Linked DNA regions of Homo sapiens: regions 1, 2 and 3 are each linked to region 4. The links are contacts of gene promoters, found by promoter capture Hi-C in human tissues and cell types (Jung and others, 2019). All regions are on one chromosome and are shown on one strand. Each heading gives the region's core, a stretch centred on a gene start or on the middle of the fragment in contact. The rest is flanking DNA. Distances are from core to core; before and after follow the strand shown. Region 1 holds the start of FAU (FAU ubiquitin like and ribosomal protein S30 fusion). Region 2 overlaps VPS51 (VPS51 subunit of GARP complex). Region 3 holds the start of MIR194-2HG (MIR194-2 host gene). Region 4 holds the start of BATF2 (basic leucine zipper ATF-like transcription factor 2).

What was found. Contacts are between HindIII fragments. The study calls those that stand out against the background at their distance.
Region 1: the fragment with the promoter of FAU here is called in contact with the fragment with the promoter of BATF2 in region 4 in 1 of the 25 tissues and cell types used here (lymphoblastoid cells).
Region 2: a contact is called between a fragment that was not itself captured here and the fragment with the promoter of BATF2 in region 4, in 3 of the 25 tissues and cell types used here (dorsolateral prefrontal cortex, lymphoblastoid cells and mesenchymal stem cells).
Region 3: a contact is called between a fragment that was not itself captured here and the fragment with the promoter of BATF2 in region 4, in 6 of the 25 tissues and cell types used here (H1 embryonic stem cells, dorsolateral prefrontal cortex, lymphoblastoid cells and 3 more).

The regions. Positions count from the first base shown.
Region 1 is chr11:65,119,455-65,124,129 of GRCh38, reverse strand. FAU (FAU ubiquitin like and ribosomal protein S30 fusion) reads left to right here and starts at 1,996. Exons shown (of 5, transcript NM_001997.5): 1 at 1,996-2,040; 2 at 2,309-2,391; 3 at 2,486-2,630; 4 at 3,094-3,149; 5 at 3,324-3,500. The coding sequence starts at 2,317. The coding sequence ends at 3,449. It overlaps MRPL49 (mitochondrial ribosomal protein L49), which reads right to left and starts at 1,809. Exons shown (of 4, transcript NM_004927.4): 1 at 1,706-1,809. The coding sequence starts at 1,783. RefSeq lists enhancers at 1,519-1,788, 1,949-2,038. The HindIII fragment of the contact is 8,684 bases long and covers 1-2,424 here.
Region 2 is chr11:65,101,583-65,108,261 of GRCh38, reverse strand. VPS51 (VPS51 subunit of GARP complex) reads right to left here. Exons shown (of 10, transcript NM_013265.4): 3 at 535-681; 4 at 240-459; 5 at 1-65. Among named protein-coding and RNA genes, the nearest start is that of TM7SF2, 7.0 kb to the left of the region's middle. RefSeq lists a silencer at 5,731-6,025. The HindIII fragment of the contact is 6,205 bases long and covers 1-6,092 here.
Region 3 is chr11:64,888,494-64,895,391 of GRCh38, reverse strand. ATG2A (autophagy related 2A) reads left to right here. Exons shown (of 41, transcript NM_015104.3): 40 at 1-102; 41 at 183-846. The coding sequence ends at 419. It overlaps MIR194-2HG (MIR194-2 host gene), which reads left to right and starts at 1,943. Exons shown (of 3, transcript NR_133640.1): 1 at 1,943-1,981; 2 at 2,566-2,802; 3 at 6,052-6,898. MIR192 (microRNA 192) reads left to right here and starts at 4,146; the gene lies at 4,146-4,255. It overlaps MIR194-2 (microRNA 194-2), which reads left to right and starts at 3,953; the gene lies at 3,953-4,037. The HindIII fragment of the contact is 4,598 bases long and covers 1-3,558 here.
Region 4 is chr11:64,994,107-65,000,942 of GRCh38, reverse strand. It overlaps BATF2 (basic leucine zipper ATF-like transcription factor 2), which reads left to right and starts at 3,972. Exons shown (of 3, transcript NM_138456.4): 1 at 3,972-4,067; 2 at 6,394-6,495. The coding sequence starts at 4,029. RefSeq lists a cis regulatory region at 1,690-2,828 and an enhancer at 4,073-4,573. The HindIII fragment of the contact is 29,477 bases long and covers 1-6,836 here.

The DNA of each region.
Region 1 (4,675 bases), core at 747-3,246, 130 kb before region 4:
GATCATCTAAGGTCAGGAGTTCAACACCAGCCTGGCCAACATGGCGAAACCCCATCTCTACTGAAAATACAAAAATTAGCCGGGCATGGTGGTGCATGCCTGTAATCCCAGCTACTTGGGAGGCTGAGGCAGGAGAATTGCTTGAACCCAGGAGGTGGAGGTTGCAGTGAGCTAAGATCGCACCATTGCACTCCAGCCTCGGTGACAGAGCGACGAGACTCTCTCAAACAAAACAAAACAAAACAAATTCCTGCATGGCCATCTGTCCAACAACTGCCTGTCCAATCTTGAACTGGCACCACCCATGTTATTCATCCTTGTAGCCAAGGATAACTGTCTCAAAACAATTATGTAATACTCATTTTTCCTTTCCTTTATTTATTTTTATTATTTTTTTAGATAGAGTCTCACTCTGTCACCTAGGCTGGAGTGCAGTGGTGTGATCTCGGCTCACTGCAACCTCCGCCTCCCAAGTTCAAGCAAGTCTCCTACCTCAGCCTCCCAAGTAGCTGGGACTACAGGCACACGCCATCACACCCGGCTAATTTTTGTATTTTTTCTAGAGACGGGTTTCACCATGTTGGCCAGGCTTGTCTCAAACTCCTGACTCCAGGTGATCTACGCGCCTTGGCCTCCCAAAGTGCTGGGATTACAGGCGTGAGCCACCGTGCCTGGCCCATTTTTCTGTTAAAAACCTTTGTCTTCTTTTACCTCCCTGATAAGCACATAGTCTATACCCATTCCCGAATAAATATCCTTTTCTTTTAGAGTCTGTTATTTAGGTTGACATAAGATAGCACCAGTCTTTGGTTTTCCATGGTGCAGGGTACAGATGGGATGGAAAGGAGGCTCAGGTACTCTGAATGGTCTGCCTCTCAGGATTTCTGTGGGATGCAAAAGAGTATATGTACACTTCTGAAAAGTCAATCAAGCCTTTAGAAACTTAAGGCTTAACTTTCTGTCTCGGTTTTAGAAATAGATATTATTATATTGGCAGCGTGGCCTTGTTTGTACCTCCATGATTGCCTGGCTGGCCTTGCTAACCTAATCACATCTGTGACGGGATATAGTGATGTTTAATCTTATGATTGCCTTAAGAATTAAGGCAATCAGACGGGTTCGGCGGCTCATGCCTGTAATCCCAGCACTTTGGGAGGCCGAGGCGGGCGGATCACGAGGTCAGAAGATCCAGTCCATCCTGGCTAACAAGGTGAAACCCCGTCTCTACTAAAAATACAAAAAATTAGCCGGGCATGGTGGCGGGAGCCTGTAGTCCCAGCTACTCGGGAGGCTGAGGCAGGAGGATGGCGTGAATCTGGGAGGCGGAGCTTGCAGTGGGCCGAGATCGCGCCACTGCCCTCCAGCCTGGGCGACAGAGCGAGACTCCGTCTCAAAAAAAAAAAAAAAAAGAATTAAGGCAATCATAATTCCCCACGCACACTCATATGCTAGGACCCCGCCCCTTACCTGAAACGTTGTGGCTTATATAGACACTGCCAGGCACTGTGTTAAGTGCTCCCAAAGAGCACCCCAGTCTACCATTTTCCCTCTCGATTCTATATGTACACTCGGGACAAGTTCTCCTGATCGAAAACGGCAAAACTAAGGCCCCAAGTAGGAATGCCTTAGTTTTCGGGGTTAACAATGATTAACACTGAGCCTCACACCCACGCGATGCCCTCAGCTCCTCGCTCAGCGCTCTCACCAACAGCCGTAGCCCGCAGCCCCGCTGGACACCGGTTCTCCATCCCCGCAGCGTAGCCCGGAACATGGTAGCTGCCATCTTTACCTGCTACGCCAGCCTTCTGTGCGCGCAACTGTCTGGTCCCGCCCCGTCCTGCGCGAGCTGCCTGCCCAGGCAGGTTCGCCGGTGCGAGCGTAAAGGGGCGGAGCTAGGACTGCCTTGGGCGGTACAAATAGCAGGGAACCGCGCGGTCGCTCAGCAGTGACGTGACACGCAGCCCACGGTCTGTACTGACGCGCCCTCGCTTCTTCCTCTTTCTCGACTCCATCTTCGCGGTAGCTGGGACCGCCGTTCAGGTAAGAATGGGGCCTTGGCTGGATCCGAAGGGCTTGTAGCAGGTTGGCTGCGGGGTCAGAAGGCGCGGGGGGAACCGAAGAACGGGGCCTGCTCCGTGGCCCTGCTCCAGTCCCTATCCGAACTCCTTGGGAGGCCTGGCCTTCCCCACGTGAGCCGCCGCGACCACCATCCCGTCGCGATCGTTTCTGGACCGCTTTCCACTCCCAAATCTCCTTTATCCCAGAGCATTTCTTGGCTTCTCTTACAAGCCGTCTTTTCTTTACTCAGTCGCCAATATGCAGCTCTTTGTCCGCGCCCAGGAGCTACACACCTTCGAGGTGACCGGCCAGGAAACGGTCGCCCAGATCAAGGTAAGGCTGCTTGGTGCGCCCTGGGTTCCATTTTCTTGTGCTCTTCACTCTCGCGGCCCGAGGGAACGCTTACGAGCCTTATCTTTCCCTGTAGGCTCATGTAGCCTCACTGGAGGGCATTGCCCCGGAAGATCAAGTCGTGCTCCTGGCAGGCGCGCCCCTGGAGGATGAGGCCACTCTGGGCCAGTGCGGGGTGGAGGCCCTGACTACCCTGGAAGTAGCAGGCCGCATGCTTGGAGGTGAGTGAGAGAGGAATGTTCTTTGAAGTACCGGTAAGCGTCTAGTGAGTGTGGGGTGCATAGTCCTGACAGCTGAGTGTCACACCTATGGTAATAGAGTACTTCTCACTGTCTTCAGTTCAGAGTGATTCTTCCTGTTTACATCCCTCATGTTGAACACAGACGTCCATGGGAGACTGAGCCAGAGTGTAGTTGTATTTCAGTCACATCACGAGATCCTAGTCTGGTTATCAGCTTCCACACTAAAATTAGGTCAGACCAGGGCCCCCAAAGTGCTCTATAAAATTAGAAGCTGGAAGATCCTGAAATGAAACTTAAGATTTCAAGGTCAAATATCTGCAACTTTGTTCTCATTACCTATTGGGCGCAGCTTCTCTTTAAAGGCTTGAATTGAGAAAAGAGGGGTTCTGCTGGGTGGCACCTTCTTGCTCTTACCTGCTGGTGCCTTCCTTTCCCACTACAGGTAAAGTCCATGGTTCCCTGGCCCGTGCTGGAAAAGTGAGAGGTCAGACTCCTAAGGTGAGTGAGAGTATTAGTGGTCATGGTGTTAGGACTTTTTTTCCTTTCACAGCTAAACCAAGTCCCTGGGCTCTTACTCGGTTTGCCTTCTCCCTCCCTGGAGATGAGCCTGAGGGAAGGGATGCTAGGTGTGGAAGACAGGAACCAGGGCCTGATTAACCTTCCCTTCTCCAGGTGGCCAAACAGGAGAAGAAGAAGAAGAAGACAGGTCGGGCTAAGCGGCGGATGCAGTACAACCGGCGCTTTGTCAACGTTGTGCCCACCTTTGGCAAGAAGAAGGGCCCCAATGCCAACTCTTAAGTCTTTTGTAATTCTGGCTTTCTCTAATAAAAAAGCCACTTAGTTCAGTCATCGCATTGTTTCATCTTTACTTGCAAGGCCTCAGGGAGAGGTGTGCTTCTCGGGTTGGTGGTATGTCCCCTAGGAGAACAGTGAGGCAGAAAAGGCAGAAGCCTTTGGTATGGGGGGAAGAAATGGTAAACTACAAGAGAAATTTCCTGTGAAGAAACAGCTACAGATCCTGGGGGGCTTCAGATGTAAAATTGGGGTTATTCCCTATCCTAAGTAACTTGATCAGTCCCCCCAGGTCATTCTTTTTCATCTTCTAAACAGAGAAGGTAGCAGGAATCACTGTGGTGAGAGGTTTGTTATGGAGGCAGCAATAGAAGGGATGGGTGGGGGAAGAGGTTTGTATAGAAGGTGAACCTGGCCGTTCCCTGAACTTGGTACCAGCTGTGGCCTTAGAGTCCAGGGCAGGAATCTGGTCTGCCTTGGTTTTAGAAGTAAATATTATGTTGGGAGCATGGCCTCGTTTGTACCTCTGTGACTGCCTGGCCGGACTTGGTAACCTAATCACATCTGTGATTGGATATAGTGAGGTTTCAGTGTTCCCAAAAGTTGGGTTACCTCTGGGGCTGATTCAGGGTTCTCTTCTGGCAACTGAGCCTCCCAGCACTTCTGAACCCCACTTACTCATTCAGCTAAAGTTTCTGGACCTGCCAGTTCTTGAGAAATAGCATCCAACAGGGTAAAGCCCTTGGGCTGTGGACTTTGACTGCCTGAGTTTGGACCTTCTTTTTCTTCCTACTCCATTTACTGGGTGGCTGGCCTTTGAACTAACTACTAATTTAATCTCTGCCATCTCCAGGGCTGCTGTGAGGGTTAAAGGATGTAAATCAACATCTGGCTTACAGTGAGTGTGTGAATCTTGGCTATTTTTGTCTCTGTGGTGTTAAAGACATGGTTTCTGCCTTCCAGCAGTTTAGAAAGGGGGAGGATGTGGACAGATACAATAGCATCCCAGAGAGGGCCTCTTTTTTTGTTTTTCTTTTTTCTTTATTTTATTTTATTGAGACAGAGTCTCGCACTGTCGCCAGGCTGGAGTGCAGTGGCACAATCCGAGCTCACTGCAACCTCAGCCTCCCGGGTTCACGCCATTCTCCTGCCTCAGCCCCCTGAGTAGCTGGGACTACAGGCATGTGCCACCACGCCCAGCTAATTTTTGTATTTTTAGTAGACATGGGGTT
Region 2 (6,679 bases), core at 1,741-4,240, 110 kb before region 4:
GCTCGCCCAGGGCCAGCAGCAGCTCCACGCACTCTGCCTGCTCCGGGGCGCCTGAGCCGCCCTCCCTGCACGAGGGAGAGGTAGTGAAGGGCAGGGCCGGGGCTGCCGGTGGATGGGGCAGGAGCAGGAAAGCAAAGCACACACAGGGCAGGGGGACAGCTCCAGGAGGGCCCAGGAGCCGGGCACAGATGGGGCTCGGGGCTGGCGGGAGCGCTGGGGTCAGGGCAGAGGGGCCACACCTAAAGCGCTGCCGCAGCTGCTGGGCCAGGCGGGCCGTGATGACCTGGCAGTCGTCCTGGATGGCGCGGAACGAGGGCAGGTGTTGGTACTGCTGCAGCACGGCCTGCGCGCGGCCCTGGTAGCGCACCGCCTGCCCATAGGCGCCCAGTTCCACGCACTTGGTGAGGCGCGAGGGCAGCTCAAAGAGGAACTGCAGCTTCCGCAGCAGCGCGTGGACCCCTGGGGGACGGAGGGTGACGTTAGCCCCAGAGCCCCAGGAAAGGCCCACTGCAGGCCCTGCCCGGCAGCGCCCACCTGCCAGCTTGGTGATGCGCTCGTGGCGGTCCTGCAGCGTGGCGCTGATGCGAGCGCTGAAGTCGGTGATCACTGCCATGTTGGTGGCCAGCCGGTCCATCTCATCCTCCATCTTCCGGAAATCGTTCTTCATCTTCCGGATGGTGTCTAGGAGGGCAGGGGCGGGGAAAAGGGGAGAGCAGGTGACTGCAGGGCGGGCGCAACCTCAGCTCCTTCTCACCCACCCCTTCACAGACGCCCCAGCTTGCTCCAGGGGCGCATGGATGATTCCAGAGAAAGGACTGCGAGGGCGTGGGTCACAGCGCACATGGGGGCGGGGGAGGGGGTTTATGTTCCCAAAGCAGGCGTTACTCACATACTCCCCGTAACCCCCTAACCCTGGTGCCCAGGAGAGCCGGCCCTCAGAATTAGTCCAGATCCGAAGCAGGCCGCAGGTGCTTAGCCAGCTGCCACCACTGTGCCTCAACTGCTCCATCAGACCACAAGCAGCCAAGGCAGGGACCGCTGGCTCCCAAGCGCATCTGCGTGTCCAGCGCACTGCCTGGATGAGGCAATACATTCTTGTTGACCCTCATCTCCTTTCCAGACCTCCCAAAGCCTTTCACATGCTTTCCGGAACATGGGCTGTCTTCTCTGAAGGGCCCTTTCCCTTTGGTCCTGATAGAATCCTGCCTAGGGAGGCTGTTTTTCCTTTCACACACCAGGTGCCTGGGAGCCTGGTCCCTTCATGCTTCTAAATCATGCCTAGATCTCCTCTCTTCAAAACCCCGGCTTCTAGGAAGACCATGCCATCAAGCCACAACCCTCCTCTTTGCTGTCTCTACTGTCCTCTGACACTCCTCTCAGTTCCCCATCACTGCCTCTTCTCCTCCTCCTGTCACCTCCTTGTGCACATCCACATGGATGAGCCTTCCAATGTTCCTGACTGTTCACTGACGGCCTCAATTCAATTCCACCTATTCTTTTTTTTTTTTTTTGAGACTGAGTCTCGCTCTGTCGCCCAGACTGGAGTGCAGTGGCACGACCTCTGCTCACTGCAAACTCCAATTCCCAGGTTCACACCATTCTCCTGCCTCAGCCTCCCAAGTAGCTGGGACTACAGGTGCCTGCCACCACACCCAGCTAATTTTTTGTATTTTTAGTAGAGATGGAGTTTCACCATGTTAGCCAGGATGGTCTTGATCTCCTGACCTCATGATCCGCCCACCTTGGCCTCCCAAAGTGCTGGGATTACAGGCATGAGCCACCGCACCCGACGAGGTCTGATGGTTTTATAAGGGGCTCTCCCTGCTTCGCTTAACACTTCTCCTTCCTGCTGCCTTGTGAAGAAGATGCCTTGCTTCTCTTTCACCTTCTGCCATGATTGTAAGTTTCCTGAGGCCTCCCCAGCCATGCTGTGAACTGTGAGTCAATTAAACCTCTTTCCTTTATAAGTTACCTAGTCTCGGGCAGTTCTTTACAGCAGTATGAACCTGGATTAATATACCTAGTAATCAATCCATTACCAAGTCATGGAAGGTCTACCTGCAACATTTTCTTTGTAAGCCACTATCATCTCTTGTCCAACAACTGCCAACATTTCCCAACTAATTTCCCTAATTCCATTGAACATACCAACAATGTTCATAAAGAAAGGCGAAGAGGATAAGACAGAAATGTGTATCTGTAACAGGAGATATTTTGGTTTTGTTTTGTTTGAGAAAGAGTCTCACTCTGTCACCCAGGCTGGAGTGCAGTGGCGCGATCTCAGCTCTGGAGGCTCCTGGAGGGTGGCACGCCCGGGGAGGGCATGGAAACTCCATGCTCCTTCTCCTACACCTCGCCCTATGCACCTGCTCATCTGTACCCTTTGTAACATCCTTTGTAATAAACTGGTAAATGTGTTATCCTGAGCTCTGTGAGCCACTCCAGCAAACTGAGCCCAAAGAGGGAGTTATGGAAACCCCTACCTGGAGCCAGTTGGTCAGAAATTCTGGAGGCCTGAGGCCCTGACCTGCAGCTAGTGCCTGAAAGTGGGGAGGCAGATTTGGGACTGAACTAGTGCCTGAAGGGAGGCAGGCTTGGGGACTCAGCCCTCAACTCATGGAATCTGATGCTATCTCTGGGTAAATAGTGTTGGAATTAAATCAGAGGACACCCAGCGGGTGTCTGCTGCTTGGTGTGTGGGGAAGAAACCCAACACATTTGGTCACAGAACTCTTCTGTGGTCATGATTGTGGTGATGTGAGAGCATAGGAAGCACACAGTTTGCATTTTTCCCAAACAATGCCATAAAATATATACAAACCTTTCCATATGGTAGATCACAAAGAAAAAAACCTCATTCTTTTTTTTTTTTTGAGACAGGGTCTCCCTCCGTCGCCCAGGCTGCAGTGCAGTGGCGCGATCTCAGCTCACTGCAACCTCCACCTCCTGGGTTCAAGCGATTCTCCTGCCTCAGCCCCGAGTAGCTGGGATTACAGGCACGTGCCACCATGCCTGGCTAATTTTTGTACTTTTAGTAGAGAGGGTTTCACCATGTTGGCCAGACTGGTCTCTGACCTCAAGTGATCCACCCGCCTCGGCCTCCCAAAGTGCTGGGATTACAGGCGGGAGCCACCGTGCCCAGTCGAAAAAACCTCATTGTTAACCAATTATGAGGTCAGAAAAGGAAATCAAAACTGAAATTGCAGCATGGGTAAAATACCAAGAAAACACTAAATTGGTAAGGGCTTGGTGAATTCTATGGATGAAATGGATAATTTGCTACAAAAATAGGATTTACCAAAATGGATTGCAAAAAACAAGAAAACAGAAACAGAAAAACTAGAGAATGTTGTGAAAGAAAGGTCCTACTCCCCTTTCCCCTCCACACAAAGGCATCTGGCCCAGATGTCCAGGGGTGTTGCGGCGGCTTGAAGGACAGCGCCTTCCAATTCTCTGTGTAAACACTGCCCCAGCAGAGAAACGAGAACAGCTCTCACACAAACTTGATGGAACAAACATAACACTGTTATGAAAACATAACAGAAATACCTCACATATACACATTCATATCTCTTATGAATGGAGATGCAAGGATGAATTAAATAAACAAATGGAGATGCACAAATAAGCAAACAAAATCCAGCAGCATATTAAAATAATAATTGATAAACACAAAAGGGTTTTTGTTTCATGAATGCCAGGATGACTCAAAATTAGAGGATCTCATAATAATTTGCCATGTTAATAGATATTTCAACATCTATTCTTGATTTTTAAAAAACTCTCAATAACATATGAGCAGCTAAATATTTCCCTGACCTCCAAAACTCAGTATCATGTTTACCGAGGCAGTGCTAGAAGCACTCCAATTAAAGTCAAAACATGGCAAGGACAACCTTGATTGCCAATGTTATCTACATTGTTCTGGGGCATTAGCCAACTCAGCTAGAGTCACGAGATGTATTATGGAGATACACAAATTGGAAAGGAGGGAGAAGTATCACTATTTGCAGATGATATAATCAAATAAATAGGCCAGCCACGGTAGCTCATGCCTGTAATCCCAGCACTTTGGGAGGCCGAGGCAGGCAGATCACTTGACGTCAGGAGTTTGAGACCAGCCTGGCCAACATGGTAAAACCCTGTCTCTAGTAAAAATACAAAAAGTAGTTGGGCGTGGTGGCAGGTGCCTGTAATCCTAGCTACTGGGAAGGCTGAGGCAGGAGAATCGCTTGAACCCTGGAGGCACAAGTTGTAGTGAGCTGAGATTGTGCCACTGCACTCTAACCTGAGTAATAGAGCAACACTCTGTCTCAAATAATAATAATTGAATAAATAGAAAGCCCTAAAAAAAAAAAACAAAAAAAAACACCCTGTAAACGTTACTATAAACAATAAGAGATACCACTTTTCACTTCTCAGATTGTCAAAGATTGAAAGAGGTATTCTCTTCTTTGCTGGTGGTTATGCAAACTGATCAGCATTTACAAAGAAGAATCTGGAAATATCTAACTGCAATCACTTGTGAGCCTTCACACACCCACACCTGGTCTGTGTGTGGCTCTGGGACTGTAGGAATGTTCTCCAAGCAACACTGGGAATCTACCCCACTTGGGGAGACAGCTGGAAGGGTGAGTAAGGAGAAAAGCATTGATGTCAATTTGACAAGAAACAAACAGAAACAAAAAATGCAGGAAAAAAATATTAGAGAAAATATAAGAGAAAGAACTGTCTGAGACAAAGAATCTACAGGGCTCACATCTGTAGAGCTATTAAGGGATTTTTTAAAAAATTACATGGAAAGGTAGATTACGTATCAGCAAAATGGACTTTTCATTTTAACAACACAGTCCACAAGAAAGGATCATTTAGCCCTCTTAGAGATGATTTCATAGAAAGGAAGGTTACTAAGGAATAAAATCACATGATGTGAAACATCTATATTACTTTTGGGACCATAGGGACCATTGCCTGCATTTTGTTGGGGAAATCATAATTATTTTGAGTTTCTTTGCTTGAGATAGGGTCTTGCTCTGTCTACAGGCATGGTGATGCACACTTATAATCCCAGCTACTCAGGAGGCTAAGGCAGGAGAATCACCTTAACTGGGGAGGCGGAGGTTACAGTGAGCCAAGATGGCATGCAGTGGTGCAAACACAGCTTACTGCAGCCTTGAACTCTGGGGCTCAAGTGATCCTCCTACCTTAGCTTCTGAAGTAGCTGGGACTACACACAAGCGCCATCACACCCGGCTAATTTTTTAATTTTTGTTTAAATTTTGTGTAGAGATGGGGTCTCTCTATGTTGCCCAGGCTGGTCTCAAACTTCTGGGCTCAAGCAATGCTCCCACTTCAGCCTCCCAAAGTGCTGGGAGCACAGGAGTGAGCCACTGTGCCTGGCAAGAAAATTTTTCTTGCCAATTCATAGATGGTGAACTAAAGGACATAGCAAAGGCAGCGCTATGCAGTGAAAAACAATAAAAGCAGAGCCGAGGCTGAGGTTCGTAAAGGGATCATGGGCTACTGATCTAAGGGAGACAGACAGAGGCTTGGCAGTTGATGAGGCATTTGGTCTTCACCCAGTGAATTACTGGTTTTGTTTACAGGCCATGTGACACAATCTCCTTCCAGGTCTGCCAAAAGCTACCATGAAAAGAGCAGACTCTTTTGGTAGTGGGTGTTTGAGCCCATGACACTTAGGGGCTACCTCAAGAAGGAAGCTTGAATCCAACTTCTAAAGGGTAAAATCCAAACACTAAGTTGTTAGGAAAATAGAGTAAAAGAAAACCCAACAGTGCTGTGTGCTGTCATTGTCGCTGCCTTCCCAGCCATGGAGCCATTACACTGGAGATAAAAGTTGTACCATATCCAAAAACAACAGTGAAAGCATCCACACCATTCAGTCACAAAGACTACACTGTTTATCTTTGCATTTCAAGCTTGTTAAGAAAAGCAGGCTGGGCACAGTGGCTCACGCCTGTAACCCCAGCACTTTGGGAGGCCAAGGCAGGTGGATCACCTGAGGTCACCTGCCTGACCAACATGGTGAAATCCCGTCTCTACTGAAAATACAATAATTAGCCAAGTGTGGTGGCAGGTGCCTGTAATCCCAGGTACTTGGAAGCCTAAGACAGGAGAATCACTTGAACCCCGGAGGCGGAGGTTGCAGTGAGCCGATTGGGCCACTGCACTCTAGCCTGGATGACAGAGCAAGACTCTGTCTCAAAAAAAAAAAAAAAAAAAAGCTTGTTAAGAAAAGCAGTTTGTAACCAGGGAGAGTGAAAGCCATCTGGATGCGAGGATGTTGGCTACCTTGGGAGGGGACTGGGTGGTAACTGGTAGGAGGCTCAGGGGGCTTTGCTGGTTATGCTGTTTCCCGACCTGGATGCTGATTATGTGACTGTGCTCCCTTTGTGAAATCCATGGAGCTGTCCACTTATGTGCACTTTTCTGTATGTCTGTTAATTTTCTTTTTTTTTTTTTTTTTTTTTTTTTTTTTGAGACAAGGTCTGGCTCTGTCACCCAGGCTGGAGTGCAGTGACACAATCTTGGCTTACTGCAACCTCTGCCTCCCAGGTACAAGCCTTCCACCTCAGCTTCCTGAGCAGCTCGGACTACAGGGACACAACACCACACCCAGCTAATTTTTGTATTTTTTGTAGAGACAGGTATAACCTGT
Region 3 (6,898 bases), core at 10-2,509, 100 kb after region 4:
CGCTCCCTGCAGGATAAGCGCTCTGCGCGGAGGCTGCGCAGGGGCCAGCAGCCTGCCGACCTGCGGGAGGGTGTGGCCAAGGCCTACGACACAGTGCGAGAGGTGACCAGGCCCCCGCCCTGCCCCAGTCCCCCATGCCCATCTCCTCACACAGACCCCGCCCTGACCTCTGGCTTCCACAGGGCATCTTGGATACAGCTCAGACCATCTGTGACGTGGCATCGCGGGGCCATGAGCAGAAGGGGCTGACGGGCGCCGTGGGGGGCGTGATCCGCCAGCTGCCCCCGACTGTGGTGAAGCCGCTCATCCTGGCCACGGAGGCCACGTCCAGCCTGCTCGGGGGCATGCGCAACCAGATTGTCCCCGACGCCCACAAGGACCACGCCCTCAAGTGGCGCTCGGACAGTGCCCAAGACTGAGCCTGGGGTGCCCGGCACCCAGAGGGTGCTGCCCACCATGCTCCTGAGCCTCCCAAGAGCTGCAGCCCACGGGCCCGGCCCGGCCTGGCCCTTCAGGGGATGGCCACTGTGAAGGACGCCTTCCCAGCCTGCCCGTTGCCAATCTGCTGTGAGAGGGGGGCCTCCCTGCCTTGGGGCCTTAGCCCTGGCTCTGCACTTTTCCTCCGGGGAGAAAGGACACTGCCCCTCCCCCGACCTGGGCCCACACTGCTGCCTTCTCCCAGGACGGAGGCTTTTGGACCCTCGGACCCCATCCCACTCAGCCAAGTGTCTTTCTGTGTCTGGGGGGAGGAGGGGATGATATCCGTGTGGTTCGATGTATTATTTTTAAGCTCCGTGAGTGCGTGGGTCAGTGTCTGCATGAAGTGGAATAAACTGCCCACCGCCAGCCCCCCTCTCAGATCCTCTGTCCCTGTGAACCCTGGCCTCAGCCTTGACCTTGGCCCCGCCCCAGATCCCACCTCTGCACCCAGCACCTCCCATGTCACCACCAGGGGTCGCCATGCCTCCTGGCCTTGCCCAGCAGATCAGGGCACAGGGGGACCCAGAGGCACCCAGCCCTGCACGCCTTCCCCTGGCTCTGGGCTCTGCCTTGCCCCTCCCAGGAGGCTGCCACTCCAGCCCCACTCCTGATGTGGCAGGAGCTACGTGGGGCTGCCAGGGGAGGGAGGGATGGTCCTTGGAGCCCAGCTGACCCTGCCTGGTTGTCACTTGAGGCCACTCGGGGAAGGCTGAGCCTGAGGCATTCTAGATGTTGCTCTCACCATCCCTAGTGGGGGCTTTTGGGGTGGCCCAGGCCTTGGCCCCTTGGTTTCCACTCTGATCTGGGGTCCCAGCTCCAGCACTTGGAGGGGGGAGGGGTGCTGGAGCAGCGCTGCAGCCGGAATCCCAACCCTCACTGCACAAAGCTTTACACAGGACCAGGGAGCGCCCATTGCCCCCCACACATCTTGTTTCTTGTGAGCTGCTCCCATCGCGCTCCTCCCTGCCCTGCTTCCCAGTGGCGCTGCACAGAGGTGGGTGGGTCCATGGGGAAACCAAGGCTCGGGTTGGGAATCAGGGAACCCTCACCTTGCTAGGTTCCGCAGGCCTCTGGGGTTAGCAAAGGTCCCCCAGCCCTGCTCTGTGGCCCCTTCTGAGTGGGGGAGATCTGGGTACTGGGAACAGAGCAGAAGCTTTGTCCCGAGGGACCCTGGGGTCCTGGCTGCCCACGGACAGCTGGGGCAGCAGGCTGGTAAGAGACCAGGAGGGCGAGGCCCTGGAGGAGACAGGGCTGTGGAGACTCGGTGCTGATGCCACCCGGAGAGGCAGATGGGGCCCAGCCTGATGCTTCCTGGACCCGCCCCACCCTGCCCGGGCACAGTCCAGGGCTTCCTGCCCTTCGAACCGCACTTGTGATCAGTATTGACGGTGGTGGGATAATCATTAACCACCACCAGGGGCTGGGTCAACGGCTCAAAAGGCCCTGGGCCCAGGGTGTCCCCACTTCCTCCTTGTGCCCCGAAGGCCAGCCCGGCACTCAGGTAAGAGGCTTCCTGAGTGGTAGGACCCCTGCCGCCCTCCCTGTCCTAGGAGGCTCCTGAACCCAGGCACCTCTCTGAAGGGTGGCCAATCCTGAGGAAGAAAGGGACCTGGACAGCCATGGGGTGGCCGGGACGAGCCCCTTCCTCTCTGTGCCTTGGTTTCCACTGTGGGATAAGGGGGCCTTAGCATCAGCGCTCAGAGCTGTGGAGCCAGGATTCCTGATCGGGCGCTGTCTCTGCCAGGCCAGGGCACTTGGACACCACGCTGCAGGAGGCTGGTCTCGCCCAGGCCTCTGTGGGAAGGGCCGCCAGGCTGAGTGGAGGGCCAGCCACCAGCTACGGTGTCTTCCTTCGCAGGTCTGTCCCCCCAGGCAGAAGGATTCCAGCCCAGGGATCCCCCATCCCACCCTGACTGCATCCTGAGAAGGGGGGACGCCACTTCGGGAAGGTTGTTGGGGCAGCACAGGCCCTGGGGCCCTGCTCTGTGACCTTGGGCGGCCCCCTCTGTCTCTCTAGGCCTGTATGCACCACTGGCAAAGGGGGCAGGGCCCAAGTCTACTCTAAAAGCTCCCCTTTCTCTCCAGAAGCTTTGGAGTCTCCCAAAATGCCTGCTGGGTCTCTGCAGGACTGGCACCTGTCACCGGAACCTGTCTGGGAGGGACGAGAACACGCTTTGCAAGAGGAAGCTCTGCCTCACAGAGCCCTGGGCTCACTCAGGGACCCTGGCCAGCAGCTGCTTCCTCTCCCCACAGCGGAGAGAGACCCAAGGGTCCCAGGGCGGATGCTTCCCACCAGGCCAGCCCAGCGTGCAGGGTGGCCTCGTAAGTCCTGATTGACATATGGACAGTGGTTCAGAGAGGTTACGCTACTTGCTCAAGGTCACCCAGCTCCCAGGCCCCTGCTGTCTTCCAGGCCACTGAGGTCCTAAGCGTCCTTCCAGGCGAGCCACTGCTCACAGCCTGTTCCTCATGTTCTGCGGCAGGTTTGTGTATCTACATCTTTTCCAGTTCCCTGTCGTCCCCCTTCCTACACCTCGTCATCCACTATCCCTGTTTGTTTTCTCTGTTCCTTTCTAGTTCTCTACCTGCTCCTCTTATTTTTATTTGAGACAGGGTCTTTCTTTGTCACTGAGGCTGGAGTGCAGTGGCACAATCCCAGCTCACTGGAGCCTCGACCTCCCAGGCTCAAGTGATCCCCCGCCTCAGCCTCTTGAGTAGCTGGGACCACAGGCATGCATCACCACACCAGGCTAATTTTTTATTTTTTGTAGAGATGGGGTCTCACTGTGTTGCCCAGGCTGGTCTTGCACTCCTGGGCTCAAGAGATCCTCCCACCTTGGTCTCCCAAAGTGCTGGGATGCCAGGTGTGCACCGCCATCCTCGGCCTTACTCTTCTCTTCCTCTCTCAGCCCCTCTGCCTCACTATCCCTCTTTCTGTGCCCTCCCCCACACAGCCCCCCACACTTCTTCTTAGTCTCATCTTCAGCTTCCCATACGAGGCCATCCTCATGAAATCAGGCACTGGGAGGTCCCTGGGGACTGACAAGTGCCAGCTGTCCCTTGCTGTCTCTCTGCCCCATGGCTGCAGCAGGGAGGGTGGGCAAAGGGCAGAGGTGACAGTGGCCAAACCTGAAACTGAGGCCCAGCTCTGGTTGGGAAAGAAACAAGGAAACAAAATAACTTGGGGACAGAGGGCGTGGGGTCATCAGAGCGGGCAAAGGCTGCCCAGGAGTTGTAAATCCGAGCCGCTCCCGGCTTTATGAGGCCGATTTGGGGTTGAGCCTGGACTTTGCCCAGGAAGGAGTGCTGGCAGCACACGGGGCGCCAGGTGTGGGCCCCGGATGATAAGAAGCCTCGGTGAAAAGACCATGGACCTGGGGCCACGAAGACTGGGGAGCCCAGGTGAGTGGGCATGGGACACTCTCCAGAGCCCTGCCGAAGGCGGACGCCAGGCAGGGCCCCGGTCTCCAATTGGTTCCCGCCCCCTGTAACAGCAACTCCATGTGGAAGTGCCCACTGGTTCCAGTGGGGCTGCTGTTATCTGGGGCGAGGGCCAGTACCCACGAAGAAGGAGAGGCAGGTGCTGGCCAGCAGACCAGCCAGGACTACCGTGGCGACGCTCCCAGGCCAGATGGTGGCGGGTAGTGGAGGGCTGTCGGTGGGCTGCCGAGACCGAGTGCACAGGGCTCTGACCTATGAATTGACAGCCAGTGCTCTCGTCTCCCCTCTGGCTGCCAATTCCATAGGTCACAGGTATGTTCGCCTCAATGCCAGCCACCAGGACCTGCAGGGATAGGGGAGGGCCGGGGGTGTCCAGCAGTCAGCAGAGATCCTGCGACCCCAGTGCAGCACTCATGGTCCCACCTCCCTCTGTCTCATTCCCCGTGAATGAGCCTGAACAGCTTCAGTCCTGCCCCTGCCCTGCCTGCCCTGTGGCACCTCTATGCTTTGCCCATGCTGTTCCCTTGGGCTGCAATACTCTTCCTAGCTTATTTGCCAGGCTCACTCTTACTAACCCTTTCAAGCTCTGTCCAAGCATTTGCTGCCTCCAGAAGGCCTTATTGAAGCTTCTAAGTCCCCACCTGGGCACCCCCACACAGTGCTGCCGCAGAGCACTGCCCTCTCGGAGCCCCGGTGCTGGTTTCTGCTTATGTCTCGCTCCTCTCCCCATCTGTGAGCTCAGTTCCCAGCCCAGGCGCGTGCCCAATAAATGTTTGCTGAACCAATCCTGAGCCTCTGTCTTGCACCCTGAGGAAGCACCCACCGACATGCAGTGTGGCCAAGGGGGGCTGAGTGCTCTAGGCCCAGTGTTTGTGCTGGAGCCCCCCCACCCAGGATGGGGCCCTGAGCCAGCCTCCCCATCTGCTTCCTACTCTCCCCTCCTTTGCCAGTCTCATCTCCCTGGAGCACAGCCCTGTGGTTGGTGGAGCAGCTTCTCCAGCCCCTAGGATTCCTAAGAGGGCCCAGGACCCCAGCTGCTGGTAGAGGAAGAGCAGCCAACCCAGGACAGGACAGCTGACCCCACCCCTGTCCCGCCTCCCACAACAGCCTCATTTCCACCTATTTCTTTGTGGTGTTTGTTTGTTTGTTTTGAGACAGAGTCTTGCTCTGTTGCCCAGGCTGGAATGCAACAGGCTTCCTCCCAGGAGGAAGCCTCCCCTCCTGGCATGATCTCAGCTCACTGCAACCTCTGCCTCCTGGGTTCAAGCGATTCTCCTGCCTCAGCCTCCCAAATAGCTGAGATTACAGGCATGCACCACCATGCCCAGCTAATTTTTGTGTTTTTAGTAGAGACTGGGTTTCACCATGTTGGCCAGGCTGGTCTCGAACTCCTGACCTCAGATAATCTGCCCACCTCGGCCTCCCAGAGTGCCGGGATTATAGGTGTGAGCCACCGCGCCCAGCCCCACCTGTTTCTTATACAACGGGGTTCTGAGGAAATTTTCCTTTTTTTTTTTTTTTTTTTTTGAGACAGGGTCTTGCTCGCTTTGTCACCCAGGCTGGAGCGCAGTGGTACAATCACAGCTTGCTGCAGCCTCCACCTGCCAGGGCTCACACAGTCCTCCCATCTCAGCCTCCCAAATAGCTGTGACTACAGGCACGTGCCACCATGCCTGGTTAATTTTTGTATTTTTCGTAGAGATGGGGTTTCACCATGTTGCCCAGGCTGGTCTCAAATTCCTGGCCTCAAGCAGTCCTGCCTCAGCCCCCCAAACTGCTGGGATTACAGGCATGAGCCACTGTGCCCTGTCAGAATTTTTCATTTGAATAAAAAGGTTTCTGGTACTACAAAATAAAATTTGTAAAATGGGAAATAGAGACCTAGGAATAAATGTCAAATTGCTTAATAACAGGCGTTGGCTATTGAGCCCTTTCTGTCTGCTGGGCACGCACATCCAGGACCTGGTCCTCCTGGCATCCATCATGAACCTGTTTGGGACAGGAGGACACAGGCTCAGAGAGGGTGCACATTTGCTGAAGTCACAGAGCAAGTTGGACCTTCTCCTGGGGACTGTAGGCAGCCAACAAACATCTGGCCCCTAAGACACTGTCTCTCTCCCCTTCCCACAGGCAGCTCTGCTCACACTGTCCTGGCTGCTCTGAATCCCTGGGCCCCGATTGGCCCCTGCCGTGGCCCAGCTCAGCAACCCCTCCCTGCAGACCATCCCATGACTCTGCAGGCGCTGCTCCCCTCTCTGCCCACACCCCGGCTTCGTGGGCCTCTCCCGCCACCCTTATCTCATTCCCTACAGAGTTAAGGAGCCCTGTGTGCTTATCTAATCCTGTGCTAGTTTCAGACTCCTTGAGGGCAAGGTCCATGACTTACTCATCCTCCCTGGCTGCTTCCCCCACCCACCAGCATAGTAGGTGTTCAGGATACATGGGCTGGATGGTAGGGCCCTGGACTCTAACCCTCTTGGGGCTGTCAGGCCTCAGACTCAGAGCACTGGCATAGGGTGAAAGGGGAGCAGACAGCAGCCACCCTGCCCTGGGGGTCCTCCTGCATCTGCCTCTGCAGAGCACTGCGATCCCACAAAGGCCTGCGAGGGCTATTGGAGACCTGTTCCAATGCATGAGCAAGGCGGATCCAGCACCCTCCCCCAGCTCCTTGAGCCCACTGACCTGTGTCCTTTACCCAGCAGGCCCTGGGCCCATGCACATTTCCCTGGCCTGGGTCTCACCTCCAACCCCTCTCAGAACTCCTCAAGACCTGCCCAAGGGTCACTCCCTCGCGGACACCTGCCTGGCCCCCCGCCCCGCCCCCCATTACCCCACTCACTGGCTCCCTGGATGCTCTGTGGCTGGGATGTTAGCGCCCCCATCATGCCCCATCACCCACACCGGGCTATTTCCCCCACCAGCCTGAAAGCCCCCAGGAGTGGCGGCCACTGACTTTTTTCCTGTAGCCTCAGACTCA
Region 4 (6,836 bases), core at 2,723-5,222:
AAGAAAGAGAGAGAGAGAGAGAAAGGAGGGAGGGAGGGAGGGAAACACAAGCCTGTTGTTACGTGAATAAAAATTAATCAGATATGTATTGAGTGCCTTTGTTAAGTTTAACAGATGTTTATGTGACTTAACTGTGGGCTGTGCACTGTTCTAAGCCCTTTACATAAATTACTTAAATCCTTCTATTATTATCCCCATTGGCCAGGCACGGTGGCTCACGCCTATAATCCCAGCACTTTGGGAGGCCAAGGCTGGCGGATCACCTAAGGTTGAGACCAGCCAGGCCAACATGGTGAAACCCCGTCTCTACTAAAAATGCAAAAATTAGCTGGGCATGGTGGCACACACCTGTAATCCCAGCTACTTGGGAGGCTGAGGCAGGAGAATCACTTGAACCTGGGAGGCGGAGGTTGCAGTGAGCCGAGATCGCACCACCGCACTCCAGCCTGGGAGACAGAGCAAGACTCTGTCTCAAAACAAAAAACAAAAAACAGGCCGCGTGCAATGGCTCACGCCTGTAATCCCAGCACTTTGGGAGGCTGAGGCTGGCAGATCACTTGAGGTCAGGAGTTCGAGATCAGCCTGGCCAACATGGTGAAACCCCATCTCTACTAAAAATACAAAAAATTAGGTGGGTGTGGTGGCGTACACCTGTAATTCCAGCTACTTGGGAGGCTGAGGCAGGTGAATCACTGGAACCCTGGAGACAGAGGTTGCAGTGAGCCAAGATTGTGCCACTGTACTCTAGCCTGGGTGACAGAGTGGGACTCCGTCTCAAAAAAAAAAAAAAAAAGGGACAGGGCTTCAGGGCATTCTGGCTTCTCCCAAAACAGTGGTGTGACTTTCTCTTCCCTATAATTCAGTTTATTCATTGGTGAAATGATGAAGTTGGTTGGGGGGAGCCCACCAGGAACCCAGGGCAGGTCCTATGGGAATGAGTGAAAAGTTTCTTTCCTCAGGAAAGTTTTGGGGTTCCTGGGTGGCAAGCTGCCTGCTGGACTTTAATTAATTAATTCATTAATTGAGCATCTATTACGTGAAGGCAGTGTTTGAAGCACTGGGGATCCTTCAAAGAACCAGTCCTGCCATGTAGGAGCTCATTGGTAGCTGTGGTATTTGGGAGGCCTCCAACCCTCCACCCACTGGGGCTGCTGGCTCTGGACTAATGGACCAGGCCTTTCCAAGCAGAGTGTGGAGCAGGACTGAGGCCTAGAAGAGAGAGGTTGTGTTCTCCCTGCAGCTCTGCCCCTCCCGTGGAGTGACCTTGCCCCTCTGGGCATTAGTTTCCTCACCCTCTTTTATGAACTGAAAGTTTGTGTTCCCCCCCCAAACTCACACACTGAAGTGCCAACCCTTGGTAAGATGGTATTTGGAGGTGGGGCCTTCAGGAGGTAATTAGGCTTAGATAAGGTTGTGAGGGTGGGACCCTACAATGGGATGAGTGTCTTTATAAGAAGGCAGAGAGACCGTGTGAGAATACGGCAAGAGTGCCACCATCTTCCAGCCAGGAAGAGGCCTTGCCAGGAGCCAAACCTACCAGCACCTTGCTCTTGGATTTCTCAGCCCTCAGAACTGCGAGAAATAAAAGGCTGTCATTAAGCCACTCAGTTTCTGGTATTGCATTATAGCAGCCTGAGCTGACTGAGACACCGTCTAAGGCGAGGTCAGATTGGATGGTCCCACCAGCCTGGGAGAAGTCTCCCACAGCCATTCCTAGTTAAACATTACCCACCCTACCTCCCTCCCTCCCTGCCACTCCCTCTCCCAGCTGCCTCCTCAGGGAGCCATAAACGCTGCCTTCTTTGGTCTTCTCCCAGGGCTGTGGTGTTCTGGGAAGAGCTACACCTGCTGTCTCACCTCTGCCAGAAGCCAGGGTCTGGAGAAGAAAGACTGGGGGTCTGGGGCAGGGGCTGGGATCTGGAGTGGGACACTCAGGCCTAGCCCCTCCACACACACACACACACACACAAGCACACACGGGTGTTTCTTCGTAGTCACATCATGCACAAGGTGCCTGCAGATCCTCCCAGGGGAGCTCATGGGCTGGCTTAATGAGCCCTTCAGGTGCCTGCCTCAGGCAAGACGCCCCAGCCTTCCTGGTTTCCAGGAAACAATAATTCAGAGAAACAGGGATGGCCTCACTGCGTGGGGCATCCCACTTCCGCCTCTGCTCCCAGGCCCCTCAGAAGCTAGGAGGGCAAGGCCCAGCTCTTATGCCCAATCTCACCCACCCAGGCATTTTAAATTAGGAGCCTGCATTAATAATCTTAGAATCCAGAATATGACACCACAAATTTCAGGAGGGGGAATCCTTGCCACATAGTACTTTACAATATCCCAAGAGCTTTCTTCTCATCTCATTCTTTCCCATCTTCAAAACAACTGTCAAATAGGTATCATTTCTTTGTGATCACCAGCATATCTTTGAAGACACTGAGGCTCCAGGTGATAAACTGGGTGAGTGGAGTGCCAGGATGGAGAGTCAAGTCTTTTGTCTCTGAAACCCAGACTTGTTTTATGCCTGGTTCTAGGGATAGCAGGGGACTGCACTCTCCACACCTCTGCCCATAACAGGCATCACTAATCGATCATGGTGTGGCAGACATTGCTAATCAACTGCAGTACTCTTTTTTACTAAGCTCAGAGGTGTCCATGAACTCTTTAAAACAACATTCCAGCCACCATCACCTATCAGAAGATCATATCTGTATTTGCCATTCTTGTGATACCACATCATCAGCCATGAGCCCTCAGGTCTCAGGTACAACTCCAAGATGCTCTAGTCACCAGACCATAGGACTCTACATACTGCATGCATGCTGTTCTTGGACAGGAATTACTGGCCCCTCTGGCCCCCAAACAGATGCCCCATCCAAGTGTCCCTCTTAGAGATACAACAAGCATGCAGGTATGCCCGGGGCTTCAGGGTTTGCTAGGTCTTTATTTTTTAATTTTTAATTAATTAATTTTTTTGAAACAAGGTCTTGCTCTATTGCCCAGGCTGGAGTGCAGTGGCAAGATTATAGCTCACTGCAGCCTTGAACTCCTGGGCTCAAGTGATCCTCTCATCTCAGCCTCCTGAGTAACTGGGAATACAGGTGTGTGCCACCATGCCCAGTTATTTTTTTTATTTTTAATATAGATAAGGTCTTGCTATGTTGCCCAGGCTGGTCTCAAACTCCTGAGCTCAAGTAATCCTCCTGCCTTGGCCTCCCAGAGTACTTGGATTACAGGCATGAACCACTGCATCTGGCCTAACAAAATTGTTTTTATCCCCACTTTACAGATTTGGAAACAGAAACACAGATGAAATTACGAACCCAAGTCACATAGCTTGGAAGCTGGGCTCCTAACCACTGGACATCAATCTTTCCACTGCTTCATGGTCTGTTGTATGAAAACAGTAATGTATCCATCTGTTCTATCCAACAGCCATTGCTTAATTTTGCAGACATGCTTCCATAGTGGTCTCAGAAGGTTTGGGGGTGGTTGTATTATCTGGCTTAGTTCCTGCAATGAGCCTGGGAGTGGGTAGTTGTACCATCCTCCAGATGAGAAAACTAGGGCTCAGAGAAGGAGAGTCACTTTCTGAAAGTTGGACAGCTCCAATGTGTGCTGTGATCCAGAGTTCCCCCAATTCCAGAGCTCAAGGGCTCTCTCTACCCCACATGAGCATCGGTCCCCACTGGCTTCTTCTCTCATCTCAGTCCCTGGCCGCCTGTCCTCCCTCCCCTAGAACACCCTCCTCATACCTGGCCTTTGGTCTTCCCTCCTCTCCACCCTCCACCATCCTCTTTCCAGAGAAGGGGCCCAACCGGAAGGCCAGTTCATGTTAGGAAATTCTAGCCACGTGAGCAAGCCTGAGCCAGGGATTCTGAGCAGCTGGTGGCTTTAGGAGAAACTGAAACTTGGCCCTCTGGGGGCGGAGTGGCCACTGGGGATTTAAAGAGCTGCCACTTCCTTAGGCCTCCAGAGGGCACTGGGAAGTCACAGCTGCTGAGGGACCACTCTGCTCCCCCGCCTAAGCCATGCACCTCTGTGGGGGCAATGGGCTGCTGACCCAGACAGTGAGTACAGGGGATTGGGGATCGGGGATGAGAAGGGGAGCTGGGATCCCGTCCTCAGTGCCCAGGCAGTGAGGGCTGCAGTCGGGAGCTCCTAGTCCCAGCTCTATACTCTGAGCAGTGTGACAGAGGGCTCTGCATGCCCCTCTCTGGGTCTCACTTTCCTCCCCCGAAGTCGGGATTGGATTGGAATGAGTTGTTTCCAGCTCTCACATTGCAGATCCAGCCTTCGGTTTAGAACTTGGCCTCTGTGTACTTGCTCTCTCCTAACGTACCTGGTCCCCCCTCACTACACTCACAGCAGCCTTTCCTTCCTTCTCCAAATAACCCAGGCCGGCTCATGCCTGTAATCCCAGCCCCTTGGGAGTCTGAGGCCGGCAGATAACATGAGGTTAGGAGTTCAAGATCAGCCTGGCCAACATGGCGAAACCCCGTCTCTACTAGAAATACAAAAATTAGCCAGGTGTGGCAGGGCACGTCTGTAGTCTCAGCTACTCGAGAGGCTGAGGCAGGAAAGTTGCTTGAACCCGGGAGATGGAGGTTGCAGTAAGCTGAGCTCATGTCACTGCACTCCAGCCTGGGTGACAGAGAGAGACTCTGTCTCAATAAAATAAAATAGGCCGGGCTCAGTGGCTCACACCTGTAATCCCAGCACTTTGGGAGGCTGAGGCGGGCAGATCACCTGAGGTCAGGAGATCGAGACCATCCTGGCCAACATGGTGAAACCCCGTCTCTATTAAAAATAGAAAAATTAGCTGGGCGTGGTGGAGGCACATGCCTGTAATCCCAGCTTCTCAGGAGGCTGAGGCAGGAGAATCACTTGAACCTGGGAGGCGGAGGTCGCAGTGAGCCAAGATCACGCCACTGCACTCCAGCCTGGGCGACAGAGACTCTGTCTCAATAAAATAAAATAAAATAAAATAAAGTAAAATAATAAATAAATTCCCTGGGCCATGGTTTCCCTTGGAGGCTCTGCTTATCTCACAGGAGCCCCCTTCACTCACCGTGGGTCCTGTCTCAGCCTTTAGTTTCTTGGTGCCCCAGTGTCTACAGTGAGCCCGCTGTGGACATGGCCCAAGGGAGCATATGGAGCAGGAGCCTAGGAGCATTCAGAATCTGCAGCCAGGGCGGCCAGGGCCTTGCCTGAGGTCCTTACCCTCAAAACACATACCCCAGAGAGACTTGGGGGCGGGGGCTGGGCTGTGAGCTCTCCAACAGTCCCTCTTGCTCTGACTTTGCAGAGCTCTGGACATTTGGGTAAAATATTTTATCTAAGTTTCATTGATCCCAGGGTACAAGGTGGTCACAACCTTTGAGTCCACTCTTCCACCGGAATAAACCCTTCATTCATTCATCCTTCGCTACCACCCCACTACAATGTGAGCAATTTCAGGGCAGGGATTTGTGTGTATTTTGTTTGCTATCATGTCCCTCTAGCTTACTGCCTGGAACATAGTAGGTGCTTATACATGTTTGTTGAGTAAGTGAATATCTGCTTTGGGCTTGAGCTGGGCATGAGCACAGAGAACCACATCTGCCCTCATGGAGCTCACAGTTAGGAAAGTTCACACCTTGGTGTGGAAATCATGGCAATGAGAAGAATGGAAGCTGAGCTTTATGGCACGCCGGCTCTGGGCTGCCTGCCGCATGGGCTTTAACCCTCTGCTGTGGTGCTTCCATTGCAGGGATGGGGCGATTGGGTTCAAGAATATGGGGCTCGGCTGGGCACGGTGGCTCACACCTGTAATCCCAGCACTTTGGGAGGCCGAGGCTGGTGAATCACCTGAGGTCAGGAGTTCAAGACCAGTTTGAGATGAGCCTGGCCAACATGAGGAAACCCCATCTCTACTAAAAATACAAAAATTGGCCAGGAATGGTGGCAGGTGCCTGTAGTCCCAGCTACTTGGGAGGCCGAGGCAGGAGAATTGCTTGAACCCGGGAGTCAGAGTTTGCAGTGAGCCAAGATAGAGCCGCTGCACTACTCCAGCCTGGGCAACAGAGTGAGACTCTGTCTCAAAAAAAAAGGAAAAAAGAATGTGGGGTTTGAAGTTGGCTCTGTCTGAGTTTGAATCTCAGGCTTCCCATCTTCCCTGCTTGCCCTCCCACCCTCCACATGAGCGGTGAGCAGGACACAGGGGTGAGGCTGGCGTTCCAACAAGGTGTGCAGTGCCTGCTATAGGGGGTGTGGGTGCCAAGGGAGCTTCTGGGAGATAAAAGACCCTTGGGAACTTGACTCAAGGGGAAAGACTTGGCTTTACAAATGGCGGGCCAGGACGGAGGGCACAAGGCCTGGCTGGGCCCCCTGAGTCCTCTGCCTCATGCCCCACAGGACCCCAAGGAGCAACAAAGGCAGCTGAAGAAGCAGAAGAACCGGGCAGCCGCCCAGCGAAGCCGGCAGAAGCACACAGACAAGGCAGACGCCCTGCACCAGGTGTGGACAACCCCTAACCCCTTTCCTTGTCTCTGGCTCCACTTACTGGCCCAGCCACCTCTTCTCCATCCCACCTTTGAGCAGACCTCCCCCAAACTCCTGTATTTTTCTAGGTCACCTGAGTTTGGGATGAGAAAAGGATCCTGTGGCTGACATTTGGAAAGTTCTGGGTGTTGAGTACAAACCATGTGCCAGGTACACACCAGGCTCCAGGGACACAAAGGGTCATCCTCAGCCCAGCCGTGTCCTAAGGTGTCCGCAGTCTAGGGGAAGGAAGACAGGAAGTGGAGGCAAATAGGGAGACCCCAACACAATGGCCAGCTGAGACACTGGTTAAAATG